4 separate regions of the Homo sapiens genome follow, and regions 2, 3 and 4 are each linked to region 1. Evidence: promoter capture Hi-C in human tissues and cell types (Jung and others, 2019). All regions are on one chromosome and are shown on one strand. Each heading gives the region's core, a stretch centred on a gene start or on the middle of the fragment in contact. The rest is flanking DNA. Distances are from core to core; before and after follow the strand shown.

Region 1 (2,700 bases), core at 106-2,605:
CATGAATCAACATATGCAATGGATACTATTCAGCCTTAAAAAAGAATTTCTGTCATTTGTGACAACATGAATCAACTTGGAGGACATACTAAGTGAAAAAAGCCAGGCACAGAAAGACACATACCACATGATCTCACTTATATGTGGAATCTTAAAAAGTCAAACTCATAGAAGTAGACAGTAGAATAGTTGTTAGAGGCTGGAAAGGGACGGGGCGGGTAGGAGATGCAGGATGGGGAGATGCTGTTCAAAGGGTACAAGGTTCAGTCAGACAAAAGCAGCAAGTTTCTGAGATCTATTGCATAGTGTGGTGACTATAGCTAATAATAATATATCGTATATCTCAAAACTGCTAAGAGTAAATTTCAAATGTCTCACCATAAAAAACGTTAAACAAGGTGATGGATATGTTAAGCTTGACTTAGTCGTTCCATATTGTATACATATATTAAAATATAACATTGTACCCCATTAAATATTTACAATTATGATTTGTACATATATTTAATAATAATAAAAATCTAAATAAAATATTAAAGAATGCCTACAAAGCAAGGTTTAAGATGTAAATGAACACAGTAGTATCACGGAAGGGATTAAATATTGTAACATTTATTGAGCACTACGTATATATTTTTGAATTCCCACAACCCTGGAAGAATGAGAAAATCGAGACTCAGGGAGCGTTAAGTATTTTGCCCAACTGCATACGATAAATACATAGGAAAAACAAACACACAGAAGAAAACCAAACCAACCAAAGTATCTCTTTCAAAAGGAAACGACAGTCTCCTTAAAGGCAACCCGAGACAAATTTCAGCAAAGCCGTGGGACACATGGCCTTCGAGCTGCTGTCCATTATTGAGTAGCAGAAGCCAAGAAGGATGGAATGTTTTGGAAGAAAGGGGTCGGGGGTCGGGGTGTTCAAAGGACGGACCGAAGGTAAGATTGAAGTGGGGTCAGACCATGGCGGGACAGCGCACCGGAGAATGAACAGCGATTAGGGAAGAGTGGCGAGCGGGTGGCAAGGACGGAGGGCGGAATCCCGGCCGGGGCTGCGGGAGGAAAGCGCACGGACAGGAGCCCCACCGCTCGAATGCAGCGCCCGGCGGCTGGCCTCGTGAGGTCACAGGCCCTTACGAGGTGGGGCAGGCAGGCGCGGCCGCAGTGCCTTCCAGTCAGCGCGGAGGCGGTATTGAGTTCAGCCGCTCCCCACAGCCCCGGAGCCCCTGGGCGGTGGCGGTGGCCGCGGCAGCACCGGCTCGACAGCCGATAGGGTCCTGGGCCCGCTCCGCTCGGGGTGGTCGGTGGGCGGAGCGTCGGGCTCGGTCAGGTGACCGCGGGGGCGGGGCCGCGCGGCGCGGGATCCTGGGAAGGCTGCAGAGCTAGAGCAGCGCCGCCCGAGGGGCGGCAGGGGCTGACCACAGAGAGCGCGGGGGCCTCCAGCCGAGAGGAAGGGAGGGCAGCTCGGGCCGGTAGTGGGACCCTTGGGGGACAGAGGTGGGGAGGGGAGGCGAGACCCGCTGAGGAGTTGGGAGGGGAGCCTTCGAGGTGGAGGGTGGAGAATGCAGTAGGGTGCGAGGGAGGAAGGAGAACAGTGGTGGGGCTGGGTGAAGGAAGGTTCCAGAAAGGAACAGTGAGGGGACTGAGTGGGACAAAGGGGCAGATTGAAGGGTGACTGAGACTGATCAGGTGGTTCCTCAGAAATGGTGGTTGTTGTAGAAGGCTGGCGGTCCCGGGGGTGGTGTCACTTCCCTGCTCCTTCAGCGGGAGGCGGAGACCTCTATTAGCACACTCATTTCCATCTTGCGGGTCGTTCACTCGCTAGCTTACAGGTCCTCTTTCTTCCTGTAGAAGTCGTTGGCTTCGTAAGAGCAGGGTCTATGGGAAGCCTCCTCAGCGTGGGTTCTTGGAAGAGGTGGAGGTTCGTTCACTCGACGTTTGTTACACAAATATGAAAACAGGGTGACGAAAGTTTGAACGTTCATGAATGGCAGTAGCTGCAATGGAGTTGTGTATGCAGTTGGTATTAATGACGTTTTCAGTCCCTCTGGCGAGAGAAAAGCGAGCGAGTCGGGCGGCTTGTGAGGGAAATGTGGCATGAGAGGAAAGAGGAAGGTATTTTGTGAAAGGATGTCATACAGAGTCATGCTTCAGTGAAGACGCCTTTGTTTTTCTCATCTTAAAGCCTCACAGCCCCATTTTCCTCTCAGCTACTGCCTTATTTCTCTTAACAACGTAACTCCTTGAAAGAGCCTACCCTACTGGCTGGGTTCAATTTCTTTACCCCGTTCTCTCTTGTACTCACTCTGACGACATTGTCTCCTTACCACCCCACCCAGATGGCTCCTTTCAAGTTTGTCAGTGTCCTCCGTGTTGTGAAACCTAGCGAACCATTCAGTACTGATCTTAACCGCCCACCCCACCCCCCTTTTTTTTTTTTGAGACAAGGTCTCTGTCGTCCAGGCTGGAGTGCAGTGGTGCAATCATAGCCCACTGCAGCTTCAAACTCCTGGGCTCAAAAGATCCTCCTGGCTCAGTCTTTGGAGTAGCTGGGACTAAGGTCGCCATGTCCAGCTGATTAAAAAAAAAATTCTGTAGAGGTGGGAGTTTCACTGTTGCCCAGGCTGGTCTTGAACTCCTGGCCTTAAGCAGCCCTCCTGCTTAGACCCCCACCCCCGCATCAAAGTGTTGGGATTA
Region 2 (2,700 bases), core at 108-2,607, 240 kb before region 1:
TTAAATACATAAATCTTTACCACTAGTTGCCTATACCATTCAGTATAGTAGCATGATGTACTTGTTTATAGCCTAGGAGCAATAGGCTATACCATGTTCTCTAAGTGTATAGTAGGCCATACCACCTCAGCTTATATGTATGTAAATATGTATGTATTTGAGACAGTCTCGCTCTGCCCTTGCCCAGGCTGGAGTACAGTGTCACGATCTTGGCTGACTGCAGCCTCCATCTCCCGGGTTCAAGTGATTCTCCTGTCTCAGCCTACCAAGTAGGTGGGGTTATAGGCACTCGCCACCACACCTGGCTAATTTTTTTTTGTATTTTTAGTAGAGATGGGGTTTCACCATGTTGGCCAGGCTAGTCTCGAACTCCTGGCCTCAGGTGATTCACCCACCTTGCCCTCCCATGCCTCGGCCTCCCAAAGTGCTGAGATTATAGGCGTGTGCCACCACGCCCAACCCTCAGCTTGTATTTAAGTACACTCTATGACATTCACACACCAATGAAATCACCTAACAACACATTTATCGGTTTCCCTTTCGTTAAGCAATGTGTGACGGTATACACAAAACTCCAGATTATTTTCCAGATATTTAGAAATACTTTTCAGATATTTTGAAAGTTTCTGAAAACTGCTCTGTCATTACTTCTGAGTGATGAGCTGAAGAATAAAGCATGAACCAAATGAGGTATCTTCTTATACACAGCTAGTGAGACTATAAACTGACACGACCAAAATACTTCTCTAAAGTATGCATTAAGAACATAAAAGAGCATTCATACCTTTGACTAAGATAAAGATGTTTATCATGGCATACTTAATTTTAATAATAAACGTAACTTAAATAGTCAACGAGGAAAGCCAATAGCAGGCAGCCATTAAAAATGTTTTCCAAAAACCAACTGGGAAATATTCAGGGCACATATATAACATGACTGTGTTTAAACAAATTATTCATGTGCTAGGAAAATGTACCATAATGTGGGTAGCGAGATAATTTTGAGCTGTTGGTTTTGTTTTGTTTTGTTTTGGGGGGGCGGGGGGAGGGTGTGTCTTTTATACTTCTGTGTAATTTCAAAGTTTCCTGAGAATTGATACACAGTATTTCTTCAGTTCTAAGAGGTACTTTCCCCACGTCAACAACTTTTAAAACAAGATGCATCTTACAATTGCTGTTATGCCCTAGTTTAATGGAAATAATTTCTTTGTTGTACTTAAAATAATGGTACATCTTACAATCAATAGCATCTTAAGTTCTATGAAGTGTGGCAGTTTTATAACAGGCAACTAAAATAACATAACATATACACATATATAAACTTACATATATATATTTATGAATGTATATAAAAAGATGAAGCAACACTTATGACTACTATTGTACTAATCTCAGTTGTTACTAAGAGACTCTAGTTCTCAAATATAGAAATTCCCACTTAACTACTGGCTATAAAAACCTAGAAACAGACACCGAAGAGGTGTCTCTGATAGAGAAAGACTGTGTTTTTCTCCTCAGTACAGGCATATCCAGTCACCTCCTAGTTATTCTTAGTCACCAATCCAGTTCAAGTTCTACAAATCTCACTTTAAAATTTCCTTTGTGAAGAGTTGAGAAAGCAAAATATTGACCAAATCTAGAATGTTTATTAGTTTTGTTCTAGCTAATTTTTAAATAAGTAAATCAGGATTTAGCTAATTTTTAAATAAGTAAATCAGGATTTAATTTTTACACTACCCTAAGGGAATAAATTAATAATAAAAACTGTGTCCTCAATTAAAGTAGCTCTATCAAATGTTTGGAAAATATATATATATATATATATATATATATATATATATATATATATATATATATATATATGTATCTCCAATCTGGAAAGAAGGTAGAAGTCTCCAGTGAAATTTTTGGAATAAAAGTTTAAATGATTAGACAGCCCACAGAACTTTCACTTCAAACCCTGATCATTCTGTTCATTTTATCAGTTGATCAACCGTTAACTTTTGGCCTACTAATTTAACGGATACTGTTCACAGGAAAGCCATTTTCTTAAGGCTTTGACTAGTACTAAGGTCAAAAAGGCATTTTGACCCTTATTTTTAGTAGCCACAGACTTTTTCTAGACATGGGTCTAGATAAAGATAGAGCTCAGCCATACCAAGCTAATATAAAAAATACTTTGCAAGAATGTAAGCTTCATGAAGGTAGGATTTTTGTTCACTATTGTGACCCTACTATGGAGAACGCTGCTGAGACATAGTAGGCACTTTTCCATAAATCTAACAAATATGACAGTTACATCAATGGCTTGCTTGCATTATACAGCATTTTTCTTGTTTCCTGTTAACTCAGATACCCACACTGTTTTGTTCTAAATACACGTTCAATTAACCATTATATTCTAATAGTGTTTTCCTTTTAATGAGACAAGGTCTTAGTTGCCCAGGCTGGAGTGTGGTGGCACAATCTTGGCTCACTGCAACCTCCACTTCATGGGCTCAAGTGATCCTCCCACTTCAGCCTCCTCAGTAGCTGGGACTACAGGCACGTGCCATCATGCTCAGCTAATTTTTGTATTTTTTGTAAACACAAGGTCTCACTATGTTGCCCAGGCTGGTCTCGAACTCCTGAGCTCAAATGATCCTCCTGCCTTGGCCTCCCAAAGTGCTGGGATTACCAGAGTGAGCCACCACGTGTGAT
Region 3 (2,700 bases), core at 151-2,650, 160 kb before region 1:
AAAAGAAAACCTAACACACCTTAGCTACAAAACCACATGTATGTATCTAGATTACTAGGTGCAATTCTGGTATATAATGGCTAAAATGAAAAGCCAGGATTGGGGTAGGGTTGTTCCACTTTCAATACTCAATCTTTTAATCTTGATGATGAATAAAAATAACCCTTGGCTGGGTGCTGTGGCTCATGCCTGTAATCCCAGCACTTTGGGAGGCTGAGGTGCCAGGACTGCTTGAGCCCAGGAGCTTAAGACCAGCCTGGGCAACATAGGGAGACCCCATATCTACCAAAACCAAAAAAATATAAAAGAACCCATCCATATTCCTCTGAAGAAGGAGAAAAAAGAACTTCCTTGTTTACATATATGTATACATACACACACATACCTTTCTGAGGAACTGATTTAACTGCATCTTTAAAAAAACTTTAATGATTTTATCTGAATAGTTCAGTGCCACATGACATTCTGTTACAACAGATCACATGTATGACAATAGTCTCATAAGATTATTTGTTTCTTTTGCTTTTTTTGAGATGGAGTTTCACTCTTGCTGCCCAGGCTGGAGTACAATGGCACGATCTCAGCTCACTGCAACCTCTGCCTCCTGGATTCAAGTGATTCTCCTGTTTCAGCCTCCCCAGTAGCTGGATTACAGGCTCGTGTCACCACGCCCAGCTGATTTTTGTATTTTTAGTTGAGGTGGGGTTTCACCGTGTTGGCCAGGCTAGTCTCGAACTCTTGACCTCAGGTGATCTGCCCGCCTCGGCCTCCCAAAATGCTGGGATTATAGGTGTGAGCCACCCTGCCTGGCCCCCATAAGATTATAATGCCATATTTCTACTGTATCTTTTCTTTGTTTAGATACACAAATATTTACCATACTGTTATAACTGCCTACAGTATTCAGTAAGGTAACATGCTGTACAGGTTTGTGGCCCAGGAGCAATAGGTTATACAATATAGCCTAGGTGTGTAGTAGGCTACACCATCTAGGTTTGTGCATATGCACTTTATGATGTTCACAAATGACAAAATCACCTAAGGACACATTTCTCAGAACAAATCCCCATCATAAAGTGACACATGACTGTATAACATATTTGTGATTTTAACTTAATTTTTTTAAACTTTACTTTGGAATAATTTTAGACTTACATAGAACTTGCAAAAACAGTACACAGTTCCCATGTACCCTACACCCAGCTTCCCCCAATAATATCTGACATAACCATAGTACAGTTATCAAAACTAGGAAATTGACATTAGTACAAAACTGTAAACTACGCTGGACACGGTGGCTCATGACTGTAATCCCAGCACTTCGGGAGGCCGAGGCAGGTGGATCATGTGAGGTTGGGAATTTGAGACCAGCCTGGCCAATATGGTGAAACCCCGTCTCTACTAAAAATACAAAAATTAGCTGGGCATGGTGGCGCTCACATGTAATCCCAGCTACTCCGGAGGCTGAGGCACGAGAACTGCTTGAACCTGGGAGGTGGAGACTGCAGTGAGCTGAGATTGTGCAACTGTACTCCAGCCTGAGCGACAGAGCGCAAGATTCCATTTCAAACAACAACAACAACAACAACTGTAAACTAAACCACAGAGCTTATTTGAATTTTAGCAGTTTTTACACGTTTATATAGAGAATATTATCACATTTACAAATTTCTATAACCACTACTACAATCAGGATATAAAACTGTTTTAATATCCCAAAGAAACCCCTAAATAGTTACATCCTCACCCTAACCCAACCTGAGAACCACTGATCTGTTCTCCTTCACTATAATTCTGTCAGATTAATGTTATATAAATGGAATTATAGAAACTTCTGAAATTGGCTTTTTTCACTTGCCATAATAACCTTGTAATCTATCTAAGTTACTATACATATCAATATAGTAGTTTGTTTCTCTTTATTGCTAAGTAGTCCATCATATGGACTAGTTTATCTATTTACTTACTGAATTTTGGGTTGTTTCCAGTTTTGGGCTTTTATGAATAAAGTTGCTATGAACTCCTGTGTAAAATATCACCTTACATTCCCACCAGCAGTGTACGAGGAATCCTGCTGCACTGCATCCTCTCACCAGCACTTGGTATTGTCAGTAGTTTTTATTTTTAGCCATTGTATCTAATGGTGGTTTTTAATCACTTTCCTTAATGGCTAACGATTTAGAACATCTTTTCACCTGCTTATTTACCATCCATATACTCTCTTTGGTGAAATGTCCATTCAATTGTTTTACTTATTTTCTAATTGAACTGATTTTTCTTTTATTACTGAGAGAGTTCTTTATATAGTCTAGATACAATCTGTGTTGTTTATGGGATTTGCAAATATTTTCTCCCAGGCTGTGACTTGTGTGTATTTTCATTAATGTCTTTTGCCAAGCAAAGAGTTTTAATTTTGATAAAATTTATCAACTTTTTATTTTATGTACTGTCATTTGGGTGTTATGTTTAAGAAGTCTTTGCCTAACCCTAGCTCATAAAGATTTTTTTCTAAAAGTTTAATAGTTTTATGTTTTACATTTAGATCCATGATTCATTTGAGTTAAATTTTTAATAAGGTATGGGGTTTAAGTCAATGCTCATTTCTCTGCCTATGGATATCCAATTGCACTGGCACCATTATTTGCTAAAAAGGATATCATTCCTCCATTAAATTGTTTTTCACCTTCTTCAAAAGTCAAC
Region 4 (2,700 bases), core at 125-2,624, 190 kb before region 1:
TCCCGACTCAGGTGATCCGCCCGCCTCGGCCTCGGCCTCCCAAAGTGGTGGGATTACAGGCATGAGCCACCACACCTGGCCTACATATATTTTTTTTCTTTTTTGAGACAGTCTTGCTTTTTGTCACCCAGGTTGGAGTGCAGTGGTGCAATCTCAGCTCACTGCAACCTCTGCCTCCTGGGTTCAAGCGATTTTCGTGCCTCAGCCTCCCAAGTAGCTGGGATTACAGGCATGTGTCACCACGCCCAGCTAATTTTCTTGTATTTTTAGTAGAGACGAGGTTTCCCCATGTTGGCCAGGCTGGTCTTGAACTCCTGGCCTTAAGTGATCTGCTTGTCCCAGCCTACCAAAGTGCCGGGATTGCAGGTGTGAGCTACCACCCCCAGCCTTCTTATATTAACATATTTTTAATTTTTTGTGGAGACGAGGTCTCACTATGTTGACCAAGCTGGTTTCAAACTCTTAGCCTCAAACAATCCTCCCACCTTGGCCTCCCAAACGCTAGGATTACAGGCATGAGCCACCATGCCCAGACCATTAAAACATTTTAAAGAGTCACTTTTACAAGCAAAAACAATCAAATCAAATCAAATCAAACTATGATAATAAGGAAAAAAGAAACCACACCCCTAAACCCATATAGATTTTTTTTTTTTTTTTAATTCAACGTCTTGCTCTGTCGCCCGGGCTGGAGTGCAATGGCGTGATCATAGCTCACTGCAGGTAACCTTGAACTCTTAGGCTCACGCAATCCTCCCACCTCAGCCTCCTGAGTAGTTAGGACTACAGGCATACACCACCATGCCTAATTGTTTTTTTTTTGTTTTGTTTTGTTTTGTTTTGTTTTTGAGATGGAGTCTCACTCTGTTGCCATGCTGGAGTGCAGTGGCACAACCTCCACCTCCCAGGTTCAAGTGGTTTTCCTGCCTCAGTCTCCCAAGCAGCTGGGACTACAGGCACGCATCACCACACCCAGCTAATTTTTGTATTTTTAGTAGAGGCGGGGTTTCACCATGTTGGCCAGGATGGTCTTGATCTCTTGACCTCATGATTCGCCCATCTCAGCCTCCCAAAGTGCTGGGATTACAGGCGTGAGCCACCGTGCCCGGCCTTAATTGTTTTCTTTTTTTTTTTTTTTTTTTGTTAGGGAAGGGGTCTTGCTATGTTGACCAGGCTGGTCTCAAACTCCTGGTCTCAAGTAATCTTCCAGCTTCAGCTTCCTAAAGTGCTGGGCTTATAGGTATGAGCCACCATACCTGTCATATTCTAGATTTAACAGCTAATTTTTACTGAGTAGTTATTACATGTGTGCCAAGACCATTGCTAAATTATCTCATTTAATCCCTAGAGGAATCATAGGTACCATTATCATCCTTATTTCGAATAAGGAAACTGAAACTTAGAGAAGTTAAATAACTTGCTTAAAGTTATACAGCTAATAAAGATTCTAACCAGGTTCTTCCTTAATGATTCTAAAGGCTGAACTCCTAACAATGCTATTCCCACATTTCTGTTTTATATTATTATAATTATAGCATACATAGTGTCATGTTTGGCTTCCTTGTCCCCCACTTACTGTTATCAAAAGCATGCTCCTATACTTATAGACCTCAAAATTACAATTTCTAAAGGCTATGTAATAGTGTATTAGGTTAATATGCAGGTATTTCTCCTGAATTTTCAAAATGTCAAATGAATATAGTGTGGATGGTTTATATTACGGAGACTTCTCATGGCCATAACTAGATGATGATGATGATGATGATGATGATGATGATGATGATGATGGGGAATAAGCATCAAATGAATAAGAAAAAAGCACAACATATCTGCTTTATTTGAGTGGCTTTATATATCATTATACTTGTGTTATAGATGAAGAAAAGGTATTAAACACTATGCTAATGATAGTGAAAGTGAAAACAAAAGAAAGGCTATCTATTTTGTACTTAGAATAAAGTTGCTCAGTATTTAGTTACCTAAATACGTCAGCATTTAAACTCCTCCTAGTAAAAGCTTGCCAATCTGAATAATCCTCCTTTAAACACAATTTTTGATATGGTTAAGTTTTTTAAGAATGCAACTCCTGCAAAATAGCTGAACAGACAATACACATTTAAAAAAAAAACAACACAAGGATCAACCAGACTTGGGAAAAAATCAAAAACAACACAAGTCTTATTAAGAACTGAGTTCCTGGCCGGGTATGGTGGCTCATGCCTGTAATCCCAGCACTGGGAGGCCAAAGTGGGTGGATCATGAGGTCAGGAGATTGAGACCATCCTGGCTAACATGGTGAAATCCCGTCTCTACTAAAAATACAAAAAAAATTAGCCGGGCATGGTGGCAGGCACCTGTAGTCCCAGCTACTCGGGAGGCTGAGGCAGGAGAATGGCGTGAACCTGGGAGGCGGAGCATACAGTGAGCCAAGATGGCGCCACTGCACTCCAACCTGGGTGACAGAGCGAGACTCTGCCTCAAAAAACAAACAAACAAACAAAAAAAAAACTGAGTTCTTAAAATATTACAGAGAACATAGCTATCGGAAGAGACAGCAGCATTGGCAAGTTGATTGTTACATTGGTCAGCAAAAGCTAGCACTATTTTTTTGGCCATCTTTCAGGCAATGTAACTACTACTGCAAAATGAGACATAATCCATTAACAACATATTCACAAATCAAAAAATGTTTTAGTAATA

What was found. The method cuts DNA at HindIII sites, captures the fragments that hold promoters and counts their contacts. A contact is called where the count stands out against the background at its distance.
Region 2: a fragment that was not itself captured here is called in contact with the fragment with the promoter of EFCAB13 in region 1 in 1 of the 25 tissues and cell types used here (dorsolateral prefrontal cortex).
Region 3: a fragment that was not itself captured here is called in contact with the fragment with the promoter of EFCAB13 in region 1 in 3 of the 25 tissues and cell types used here (heart left ventricle, mesenchymal stem cells and mesendoderm cells).
Region 4: a contact is called between a fragment that was not itself captured here and the fragment with the promoter of EFCAB13 in region 1, in 1 of the 25 tissues and cell types used here (mesenchymal stem cells).

Annotation. Positions count from the first base shown.
Region 1 is chr17:47,322,600-47,325,299 of GRCh38, forward strand. It overlaps EFCAB13 (EF-hand calcium binding domain 13), which reads left to right and starts at 1,356. Exons shown (of 25, transcript NM_152347.5): 1 at 1,356-1,475; 2 at 1,855-1,924. It overlaps EFCAB13-DT (EFCAB13 divergent transcript), which reads right to left and starts at 1,302. Exons shown (of 3, transcript NR_110880.1): 1 at 1,090-1,302. RefSeq lists a silencer at 1,085-1,494 and enhancers at 1,835-1,924, 1,965-2,144. The HindIII fragment of the contact is 8,264 bases long and covers 1-2,700 here.
Region 2 is chr17:47,077,919-47,080,618 of GRCh38, forward strand. All of the region lies in intron 1 of LOC101927060 (a long non-coding RNA gene), which reads right to left. Among named protein-coding and RNA genes, the nearest start is that of RPRML, 100 kb to the left of the region's middle. The HindIII fragment of the contact is 6,830 bases long and covers 1-2,700 here.
Region 3 is chr17:47,163,252-47,165,951 of GRCh38, forward strand. All of the region lies in intron 4 of CDC27 (cell division cycle 27), which reads right to left. Among named protein-coding and RNA genes, the nearest start is that of CDC27, 25 kb to the right of the region's middle. The HindIII fragment of the contact is 5,468 bases long and covers 1-2,700 here.
Region 4 is chr17:47,133,663-47,136,362 of GRCh38, forward strand. All of the region lies in intron 14 of CDC27 (cell division cycle 27), which reads right to left. It also overlaps the pseudogene LOC112268192. Among named protein-coding and RNA genes, the nearest start is that of CDC27, 54 kb to the right of the region's middle. RefSeq lists an enhancer at 2,268-2,700. The HindIII fragment of the contact is 3,309 bases long and covers 1-2,700 here.